Regions from separate parts of the Homo sapiens genome. Here regions 2 and 3 are each linked to region 1. The links are contacts of gene promoters, found by promoter capture Hi-C in human tissues and cell types (Jung and others, 2019). All regions are on one chromosome and are shown on one strand. Each heading gives the region's core, a stretch centred on a gene start or on the middle of the fragment in contact. The rest is flanking DNA. Distances are from core to core; before and after follow the strand shown. Region 1 holds the start of MAFB (MAF bZIP transcription factor B). Region 2 has its middle 300 kb from the start of LINC01370. Region 3 has its middle 250 kb from the start of LINC01370.

What was found. The method cuts DNA at HindIII sites, captures the fragments that hold promoters and counts their contacts. A contact is called where the count stands out against the background at its distance.
Region 2: a contact is called between a fragment that was not itself captured here and the fragment with the promoter of MAFB in region 1, in 1 of the 25 tissues and cell types used here (lymphoblastoid cells).
Region 3: a contact is called between a fragment that was not itself captured here and the fragment with the promoter of MAFB in region 1, in 1 of the 25 tissues and cell types used here (dorsolateral prefrontal cortex).

Annotation. Positions count from the first base shown.
Region 1 is chr20:40,687,535-40,691,195 of GRCh38, reverse strand. It overlaps MAFB (MAF bZIP transcription factor B), which reads left to right and starts at 1,960. Exons shown (of 1, transcript NM_005461.5): 1 at 1,960-3,661. The coding sequence starts at 2,346. The coding sequence ends at 3,317. RefSeq lists enhancers at 1-769, 770-1,747 and silencers at 1,698-2,007, 2,028-2,097. The HindIII fragment of the contact is 9,965 bases long and covers 1-3,661 here.
Region 2 is chr20:39,700,520-39,704,180 of GRCh38, reverse strand. No RefSeq gene overlaps it. Among named protein-coding and RNA genes, the nearest start is that of LINC01370, 300 kb to the left of the region's middle. The HindIII fragment of the contact is 4,850 bases long and covers 1-3,661 here.
Region 3 is chr20:39,752,247-39,755,907 of GRCh38, reverse strand. No RefSeq gene overlaps it. Among named protein-coding and RNA genes, the nearest start is that of LINC01370, 250 kb to the left of the region's middle. The HindIII fragment of the contact is 7,038 bases long and covers 1-3,661 here.

The DNA of each region.
Region 1 (3,661 bases), core at 711-3,210:
AGCTACTGGCAGGGGCTGCGCAGCGGCACCGCCCAGGCTCTCTCTCCAGGCGGCCGACTCATTTCTGCGGAGAGCACGCTTCTCGAAGAGGGTTGTAGACGCGCTCTTCCAGCATTTAATTTGCCACCCCACAAGATTGAGTTAAGTTTTAGTTAAAATACACTCATTTTATTAAAAATAGGCGGCCCAATACCACGCCGTACCCCAGCCTCTCCGAGGGCGCAAGAGAATAGAGAGTTTTCAGATTAATTGGAGGCAAATATTTTACCTTCTAACATTTAAAAATAATCTAGGCGCGTCTGCACCGGTGTGGCTCACGCGACCCCTACGCGCGAGGTCAGTCGGGCTGGTCCAGCGCAGACAGCGGCCGGGACTCACTCACCCAGTGCGCGCCTCTCCTGCCTTTCGCTGCGCGCGCCCAAAGCTAGAAAGAAGAAGGTGACGCGGGAGGCGGGTCGGGTCTCCGGGTCCAGCGAATTCGCGATCTATCCGGTTTCGGCGCCTGAGCCGAGGTCTCAGAAAGAACCCGTTAATTCTAGCCATCCTGGATCTGGGTAGGGAGGGTGCGCGGCTCCCAAGCCCAGTCTGGATGCCTAGTGCGGTGTGCTTCGGTCTCCCCGTCTGCCCTCCGGGGAGGTTTCTCACCCGGTGGCCCTGGGCCGCTTCACTGTGGCGCTTCCACTTTTGGCTACCGGCCTTCCTCCGCCCAGGACCTTCCGGCCCAGGGAGCAGCCGACGGGCACCCCCGAACGCTGGGGCACGGAATTTCAACGGGGCGACCAGAGCGGAGCTCGCGGCTCGAGGCTCGCGGCTGAGTACGAAGACGGGACCCGAGGACCTGTACATCGCTCGAGGGGAACCTGTCCTGGGCTCTGGTGCACACATAGTATGCGTTCTGGGCTGGCTTGGGTTGGGCCAGGTAGGGGAGACCTGGCTGGGTACGAGGCGCCGTCCAAGCCTTCCGGCCGTGGGCCGGGCGGTCGCGGCGCCTTTGCGCACAGTGGCCACTTGGGGTCGCACTTTATGCCTGTTTGAGCCTCTCCGCGGCGGGCTGACGCCGGGATCTGCTTAATCGTTACAAAACGTTCAAACAAAAACAGGGCCGGCTCCCCAGCAGTGGAGAGCTACTCGGAGCACCGTCCCGGGCCGGCCTCGGCCCCGAGGCTCCGGGGGCTCAGGATTCCGTGCGTGTGGCGGGGAAGAGGAATTCAGAGCCTTTGGGCTGCTGCTTTTCCCGTCGCCTTCACTGTGAACATTGTGCGGTGGGGTGAACGCGGGGAGCGGCGGGGCCAGTGGAGTCGAACCTCAGGGCTCTGCGACTGCACCCGCCAGGAGGGGCCCTCGCTTGGCCTGAGAAAGGTCCCCTGAGGTTAAGAGTTGGGTCTGAACACAACTCTCGGAGCCTCGAGCCCGCCCTCCCCAACATACAAATACGCGCAGATCTCCAGAAACAGGAACGCACGACACACACGGCCAGAAGCCGCGAGGACACACAGAGCGTCGCCCACTGGGCGGGGGCCGCTTGGGAACAAAGGGCCCAGGAGGCGTTGTCCCGGCGCTCATTCTGAGCCTCCTTGGGGGTGACACGGGATGGGGGTGGGGTGCAAAGGGAACTGAGGGAGGAGAGTGCGCGAGGAGGGGAAAGCGGTGATTTGGCCTAGAGGTGGGGCGCGCACTCCAGGCGAGCGTGCGTGGGCCGGGACCTGCAGGGTACGGGGGTGGGCCCAGGCTGGCCGTCCCACTCCGCTCCAGCGCTCCGCCAGGCCTCCGCCGCTCCGGGGCCGCTCGGGCCGCCAGTCAGCTGACGCGGGGGGCGGGGGAGCTGTCAGGCGCGCCCCGCCCTGCGCCGCTGGGCCGCGGAGGCCGTGCAGCTATTGGCCCGCGCACCGGGCCGCCCGGGCCCCCGCACCCCAGTGACATCAGGAGGCGATAAAAGGCTGCGGCGCCGCCGGATCCAGCACAGCTGCACCGCCGAGCTGCGAGCGGCTGCGAGCGAGAGAGCGTAAGAGCAAGAGAGCTAGAGAGCGAGCAACGGGCACTCGCCCCACGCCTCCCCTCAGCCCCACCGCGCGCTCCGCTTGCCTCTCCACCCCGCCCGACTCTACCCGGCCCGGTCCCTGCGCGGGCACAGCCCAGAGCTCTGGGGCGGTGCAGGCAGCCTCGGGACTCTCCGGCGCGCCGCCGCGTCCCCAGACAAAGGCTTGGCCGGCGGCCCCGGCCCGCTGCGCCCTCGCTCCCCGCCTCCCCAGCTCTTCTCCGCTCTTCCCCCCCGCGCTTGGCTCGGCGCGCTCCGGCCGGCCGCAAAGTTTCCCGGGCGGCAGCGGCGGCTGCGCCTCGCTTCAGCGATGGCCGCGGAGCTGAGCATGGGGCCAGAGCTGCCCACCAGCCCGCTGGCCATGGAGTATGTCAACGACTTCGACCTGCTCAAGTTCGACGTGAAGAAGGAGCCACTGGGGCGCGCGGAGCGTCCGGGCAGGCCCTGCACACGCCTGCAGCCAGCCGGCTCGGTGTCCTCCACACCGCTCAGCACTCCGTGTAGCTCCGTGCCCTCGTCGCCCAGCTTCAGCCCGACCGAACAGAAGACACACCTCGAGGATCTGTACTGGATGGCGAGCAACTACCAGCAGATGAACCCCGAGGCGCTCAACCTGACGCCCGAGGACGCGGTGGAAGCGCTCATCGGCTCGCACCCAGTGCCACAGCCGCTGCAAAGCTTCGACAGCTTTCGCGGCGCTCACCACCACCACCATCACCACCACCCTCACCCGCACCACGCGTACCCGGGCGCCGGCGTGGCCCACGACGAGCTGGGCCCGCACGCTCACCCGCACCATCACCATCATCACCAAGCGTCGCCGCCGCCGTCCAGCGCCGCTAGCCCGGCGCAACAGCTGCCCACTAGCCACCCCGGGCCCGGGCCGCACGCGACGGCCTCGGCGACGGCGGCGGGCGGCAACGGCAGCGTGGAGGACCGCTTCTCCGACGACCAGCTCGTGTCCATGTCCGTGCGCGAGCTGAACCGCCACCTGCGGGGCTTCACCAAGGACGAGGTGATCCGCCTGAAGCAGAAGCGGCGGACCCTGAAGAACCGGGGCTACGCCCAGTCTTGCAGGTATAAACGCGTCCAGCAGAAGCACCACCTGGAGAATGAGAAGACGCAGCTCATTCAGCAGGTGGAGCAGCTTAAGCAGGAGGTGTCCCGGCTGGCCCGCGAGAGAGACGCCTACAAGGTCAAGTGCGAGAAACTCGCCAACTCCGGCTTCAGGGAGGCGGGCTCCACCAGCGACAGCCCCTCCTCTCCCGAGTTCTTTCTGTGAGTCGTGGCCGGTCCTGGCCCCCGCCCTTGCCCCGGCCCGGACTCCCTGTCCCACGTCCCTAGTCCCAGACTACCCCGGACCCTGTCCCTGCCGCGGCCCCAGCCTTGACCTGTTTGACTTGAGCGAGAGGGAGGAAGGGCGCGCGGGCCGCGGGCGACGGGCGGGTGCGCGGGCGGGCAGGGGACCTTGGCTAAGGCGAGAGTAGCGCACGCCAGCGCCGCCTCCTAGACTCGAGCAGAGCCGGAGAGAGAGACGAGAGGGTGGGAGGTCCCGGAGTAACTTCTCTCCAGGCTGAAGGGCGGCGAGGCATAGTCCCGAGAAGTCACCAAGGCCATCTGGAGACT
Region 2 (3,661 bases), core at 682-3,181, 990 kb after region 1:
GGGCCCTTCTGATCTAGCTCCTGTTCACTTCACCAACCTCATGTCCCTTCACCCCTCTTGTTTCCCCAAAGCCTGAGTTTCAGCCACACCACACACCTCAGTCCCTAAGACATGTTGTCCTCTCTATGACCTTAGCACACACTGCTGTCTTGTGACTGAATACCTGGCAAACTCCAATCTAGTCCTCAAGATGAACCTCAGCAATTATATCCTCTGGGGTGTCCTCTCCAGTCCCTTCCCCACTCTTGGCAAAGGTAAATTGTCTTTCGGTACCTACCTTTAATAGCATATAATATAGTAACTGTAATATGTTGTTTGGGGGAACAGTGTTTATAGATTTGTTTCCTTACCCTAGACCATGAGCTTCATGAGAGCAACTGTATATTATTTGAAACATGCTTACTCTATGAATGGATCAAGTGTTCTCCACAATTTGATTTTTTTTTTTAACATACAGGGTCTCACTCTATTACCCAGGCTAGACTACGGTGGCCCAATCATAGCTCACTGTAACCTCAAACTCCTGGGCTCAAATGATCCTCCCACTTCAGCCTCCCAAGTAACTAGGACTATAGGCTCACACCACCATGCCTGGCTAATTTTTATTTATTTATTTATTTATTTATTTATTTATTTATTTATTTATTTTGTAGAGATAGGGTCTCTACGAAATATTTCCCAGTCTGGTATTTAACTCCTGACCTCAAGCAATCTTCCCACCTCAGCCTCCAGAAGTGCTGGGATTATAGGCATGAGCCACAGTGCCTGGCCCAACTTGGATTTTTTAATAACGTGTCCTGAACTAGGGAGTAATTCACTTTTCTTCTATTTATGATCCATTTTCTAAAATATTGATCAAAGAACCATGGAAATATTTAACCTATTTTAAAAATACCTTTCCAAGGCAAGAAAGTAAAATGTAAATATGTGAGTAATTTCTCCTAAGGTGCACAATATTCACTTTATTACTAAAGTAGAAAGTTGTAACAATGGGTTTGTGTTACCATATGCAAACTAAGTAAAATTTTATGTCATACTTGTCACAAATTCAGACTGTTTTCTCCCCATGTGAATTTATATTATTTCATTCCCTCCCCATCCCCTCCTCCCCCCCTTCCCTGCCCTCTCCTCTCCTCCTCTCCCCTACCCTCCCTTCCCCTTCCTTTTTCTTCCCTTCCTTTCCTCTCTCTCCTGCCATCTCACACAATAAATGTTAGCTGCCTACTTCCTCCTTCACCACGCTTTGTTGGGTAATACAGACCCATGCTGCTGAAGGTTAATGTGCATGCAAATCACCATCACTGGTGATCTGATTAAACTGCAGAGTCTGATTCAGCAGAGGGATTCTGCAATTCCAACAAGCTCCCAGGTGAGGTGAACTACACTTTAAGTAACAAGAATATAAAGGATGGAGAATGAAGCAAGCAGAGACTCTGCTCTCAACAAGATGACCATATAGTTCAGACCTTACATTGCCTCCCTGACAAAAAAATTCCCTTCATGTCCCCCAGGACTGTCTCCTCTTGAACAAATTTCCCACTCTTAATTGAAGTAGATAAATATGTGAGAGGATGGGTGTGGGACTCAAAAGAGGAGGGCGGGCATCCTTAGCTCCTGGAAATGAAGATTTGAATAGAGAACCCAGGCCAGACCAATGATCTCATAATATTGATGCTACTTTTACCAACAAGCTGAACAAATTATTAATGTGCAGACTTTAATTTTAAGATGTCCAAGAAATAGTTAAGGAAGCCTCATTTGCATGGTTTGACAATAAATTGAGGGGAGAGAAAACTAAGAGATAGAGTGTCTTTCCAGGAATGCAGCCAGAGGCCAAGGGGCTGGAGACTCCTTCCTACAGTCATCAAACTGGGTGCCACAAGAAGTTAGCAGTTTCTTGAAGAGACTGTTCGGTAGAAAGGTGATACAGTCTTAATGGCTAACCATGATTGCTCTCTGGGAGTACCAGACAAGACAGGATGGATTTGGGGGAACTCTGCAATTTCCTTCAAATTCATTGCAGTGTTGCACCAGCATACAGCCAGGGAACAAAAAAGCTCAGGAAATGGACTTGCAGCCATCCAGCCTGCTCTCTCTGCTTCAGAAGCTGAGATTTGCATGAAAGAACAAATCAAATGAAAGAACAAATGCAGCAGGTGAGAACTTTCATTCTTTTCACCTACTGCACGGCAGGTGGATGATCTACCTGGGCCATTGTCCAAGAGGTTTTTTGTTTGTTAGTTTGTTTCCTAATTGCATCACCCAGATTATTAGCTAGTTGTTCCTTCCAAATTCATGTCATCCTTCGATCACTTTTTCCTGCATTCATTTTCACATCACATTATTCAGCAAGTATTTTTACTGATCATCTACTATGTACCAGAGACATTGTATATGTTTTCCCAGAAATTAGTCAAAATAAAGCAAATAATAAGACAGACCTTAGGATAGAGCTGCTCTCACTTTCAGCTGAGGTTGATTAGTTTATAACATTCCTTGACTGCTGTTAGCTAAAAGTCCTTCCAACTTCAATACTATCTAGAACGTATACCTCCATCTTGTCCACAAGAATATCATGATATCACATTTCAAGCCCCCAATTAATTTGAGGAACACCATTTATATTTCTTCTTTAGCTACCAACCTAAAGACCCTTTAAAAAAAACAACACTGGTAGTCTAACTTAATTCCTGATTTATTTCTGCAAGTGCATGCTGGTTCCTGATGAGTACAGCATTCACAGGTAAAGGCTCACCAATTATCTCTTTAACAATCCATTCTCAATGGTGCTTCAGAGCAAGTAAAATTATTACTGCAAAATGTGATAATCCCTCTTGATTCACCTGTAGAGAATATGACTATCTATGACTTCACCAGTAGAGAATATGACTATAAAATAGTGATTCCTCATTCACTATTCCTCAGAACCACTCATATACATTTAGCGTATTTTCCTCACCACTTATACATACCATTTAAAACTGAGTTTGTCAGTTTCCCAAGCAGCTATGTTAGACATTTGTAGCACCTTACTTTTTTCTTATTTATCACAGTATTATGTATTTATCTGGTTTTTAGCCTTAAAAATCGATATTACAAGAGTGATCATTTTCCTATGCCTACATGCACACAGAAGAATCCCTACCCAAAAAATATTAATGGTGGTTACCTCTGGGAAGCAAGATTCATAGTGTAGAGGTAGAGGGATTCTCTTCCTTTTTATTTCGTGATTTTTATTATTACTTAATATTTTTATTGTATACATCTAATCTTTATACAAAACAAACCTAATTTCTTTAAAAAATACATATTCTACTGAATATGACAGATGTGAACCAATAATGATAAACCCTGGTGAGAGGTATTCTTATCTGTCCCTTCAAGACTCATGTCACATCCACTTACAAAGGAAGTGACAGAACCACAGAAAAGACCCAGCGGCCACAAGAGTTGCCTGGAACTCACCCACTTCCTCACTGCCAGCCTTGTCCTCTCCCCTAGACTTTGTCTGATTGACTTTCCACACTGTCTTCATGGTTTTCCACCAGGGGCATCTCTGTTTTCTTGGGTCTCATTTTTCCCAGCTCACTGGTTTGTTCTAGTCTGGGTTTATCTCTTCCTCTCCAGCACAACGCGCCATGACCAACTTAAGGTGACTGAC
Region 3 (3,661 bases), core at 368-2,867, 930 kb after region 1:
CCATTATGTCACAAAGTTCCCAAGAGGATTTGTCTGAGCTTGTTGGCTGCCATATCCCTAATATGACTTGGCATATAGGAGATCCATGGAGGTAATCTGTTGAAAGAATGAATATTGATATTTATCCCTTTCAAGGAATCTACATAGGACTAGGATTTACTTTTGAATTCCACTATATTGGGCCAAGAAAGATCTATCCATGTCATGCAGGCTTCACGTTAACCAAATGTTTCATAAGGTCCAAACCCAGGGGGGAAGCCTCCCATGTGTTTTCAGGTGGACAAGACTCATCACAGTTGACCTGTGCTCCTGTCTTCTTGGTCTAGCCTTTTCCAAGTTCAGGCTCATTAAACTCTAATTTACTCCCTTGTCTTTGCTCCAGTTACATCCTCTTTGGGAATTCAGGCTTCAGATAGACAACTCGATGTACATTGGCATTTTTTTAGTCACATCGGTTTCCTTTTTTTTTTTTCCTTCAACAAACTTTTTTTTTTTAAATTCCATTTCCTAAGGAATTGTAGATACCTCAGACAAAAAAAGAAGCTTAAAATATCCATTTGGTATATAATTTTTGTCCTTTTGTTTCCACAGACACTCTATTACAGTCCTCATCTTACAGAAGAGTAAGGTGATTATCACAAAAATGATATGACTTGCCCAAGGTCTCATGGTATGTCAGAAGCAGTTCTGGTATTAGAACTATGATCAATCTGAAACAAAGCCTTTGTTCTTTCCATTTTATCAATAATATTGGAGTTCCACTTCACCCCAAGTCCTTTTGTAACTATGTCACTTTGAGAGAACTGAGAGTGAAGAAAGGGCACAACTGTCTCTTTGGCAAATCCCATTTCCATTAGAATTTAATTTAGATTCAATAAAATGCTTAATGACTCTTAATTAAACCCAAATTGAAATTAAAAAATGGTTTAACAAGGTTTAATAATGATGTGAGAGATCACACAATTCCACTTCAATAAATATTTTCCTAATAACAAATAACCATTTCATTAGTGAGGAAAAATGTTGCCATTAAGCCTAAATTAAATTAAATTATCCATAATTTACTGGCATAGTTAACAGTATACGTTAATGAAAAATATGGGAAGTACTCCCCACCACCCGCTTGTTAAAAATTACTCCATTTTAGAAAATTTAAAAAGACATTGTATGTAATGTAATGGGCAGAAGGTCTGAAGCCAATGGAGCCATCTCTGAGATTCTGTTGTACCTAATAACAGAGAAGATGAGGCAGGGGGAAGGGGAGACACAGGGCTTTCCACTAAGGCCATGTGAATTTCTACCACCGTCACAGCCATAAAATGGGGTATTGATAGGGGTGGATGATGACATTGTGAATCTAGGGAATTTCTGGCTCAAAAAAAAAGGGTGGGTAGAAATTTCAGGCTCCTGTATTTTGAGCAATATCTGATCTAATACAAAGACATTGAAGATGCAGGATACGAGAGAGAAGATAACACATGCTTTCTTGTTATTAGTGTGTGTTTGTATTCTTTATTTTTAAAAAATTTCTTCATGGCTGAGCTTGAAGAGGAAAGAGATAGTTGTAGCCAGTTCCAGAAAAAGATACAGGTTTCCGGAATGGGATCAGGTTCCAGAGAGAGAGACACATTTCCAGCAAAGGGGCTCAGATTTTAGGAAAGGAAAACAGGTTTCAGAATAGGGCCCTAGTTTGGTTCCCCTCCAGAACACTGGAGTGGGAGGACAGAGAAAGACATGTGAGCTGAACCATGTAACTTTTGCAGCAATTAAGGGTTATCAGAGATTCACATTCTCAACCAACGTTTCTCCAATCCAGAAAGTATCCTGGATTCCAAAGACTCCTTATTCTAAACTTTGAAGAATAGAAAATAGAAAATATCCTCCATTCCTCCATTGTCCAAAGGATATTAACAAGACTTAAACTGACTAAAACTGCAATTTTGAGCCACATGGGACTATTGAGTCCATGAAATGTGGCTACTCCTAACTTAGATGTGCTATGAGAGTAAAATATATACTGAATTTCAAAGGCTTTTAAAAATGCAAATATCTCATTGGTATTTATTTTATATTCATTATTCTGAAATAATGACGCTTTGGACATATTGATTATATAAAAATATTTTTAAAATTAATTTATTCTATTTCTTTTTATTTTCCTCAATGTGGTTACTAGAAAATTTAAAATTACTTATGTGACTTGCATTATATGTCTATTAAATAGAGCTGATCTAGATGGGCCCACCTTAAATAAAGAAATGAACAGATTTCATTCCTTTTTGTGTTAGCATTAACACTCATTCTTTCATGCATCCATTCATTCATTCAATAACTATGTTTGAGTATCCATTAGCACAGACCCTATGTGAGATACTAGAGATATAGTGGTGAAAATAGTCTTGTGTATGAAAATGGTCTTGTCTATCCTAAGCACATTCACACACACACATATTCACACATGCACACATCACACACATGCCTACACAGTGGCACCTGTTCCTGTACATGCAAGTGTGCATATATGGACACAGAAGGACCTACAACACATGAACATGTATACATATGCAAAAATGTGCCAGTGCAGAAAGACATGAATTGAAAGCCAAAATCAGGGTCTAGGATCCAAACACTCCTGAATGTAGTAGACTTCAATTCTTCAGTTAGGTTTAACAATTATAGTTGCCAGCCAGTGACAGTCGCAACTCTTTATTTCCAGGAAGACAATCAGATAATAAAAATGTGGTCATGGTCTCTTTCCATGATTTTGTCAAGGTAGTAGATACAAGATTCCAAGTGAGAAGAATAAATGTGACAAATTCAGATCAATGTATTCATGACTAAACAAACCAGGAAAAGCCAGCAGGGGTAGGCTGGTGGTAGGTCTGTTCCATGGAGGCTCGTCTTCTTAGGCCTTAACTTCCTAGCGACTGAGAAGAGCTCACTCTGAGAGCTGAGAACAGAGACAGCTCAGTTTAGCCCAGAAACAGTGACTGAGATAATGCTGGAATCCTTTATATGATCTCATTCAAATCACTTTCTGCTTTACCACTCAGATTGTTGGCCTAGGGAGTGGGGAGAATGAATGGAGTATATTGGACAGGTATAATCAGGAGTCAGAAAGAACTGCATGTATTCTTTTAACAGAAAATTTAATATAAAGAGCTGTGTTGAGGAACTGAAATGACAAAGATAACACCCTGTGGTATCCAAAAGTAGCACCTGTAGTAAATAGCTACCACCCCACAGCTGTGTGAACAAACGAAAGAGATTTTAATTATGAATACTTAGACCCTTACAGAAGGGACACCTTGGAGCTGAGGCTCAAACAACTGAGGAGGGGTCTAAACTGGCCCATGCTGATTGGGGGACGGGGGTTATGGCACTAGTTCTGTAAGTGTCATTTTAAAAAACCCAGCTGGATTCAGCTGCTGAGACAGGAAAGAACTACTACTGTTAGGGTGAGTACTGTTAGCCGTTGCTTAGGACATCGTTAAAAGAACAAGAGGCAGAAAGAAACAGGAAGCAGAAAGCCTTCTTCTAGTCTTCCTCAACTAGCAGAACCTAGGTGGAGCCAGGTAGTAGAGTAGAAATATGGTTTTAGAGCTCTAGTCCCAGAAACACAAAGCACAAACAAGACCAGTGTGGATATGAACACTTGAGA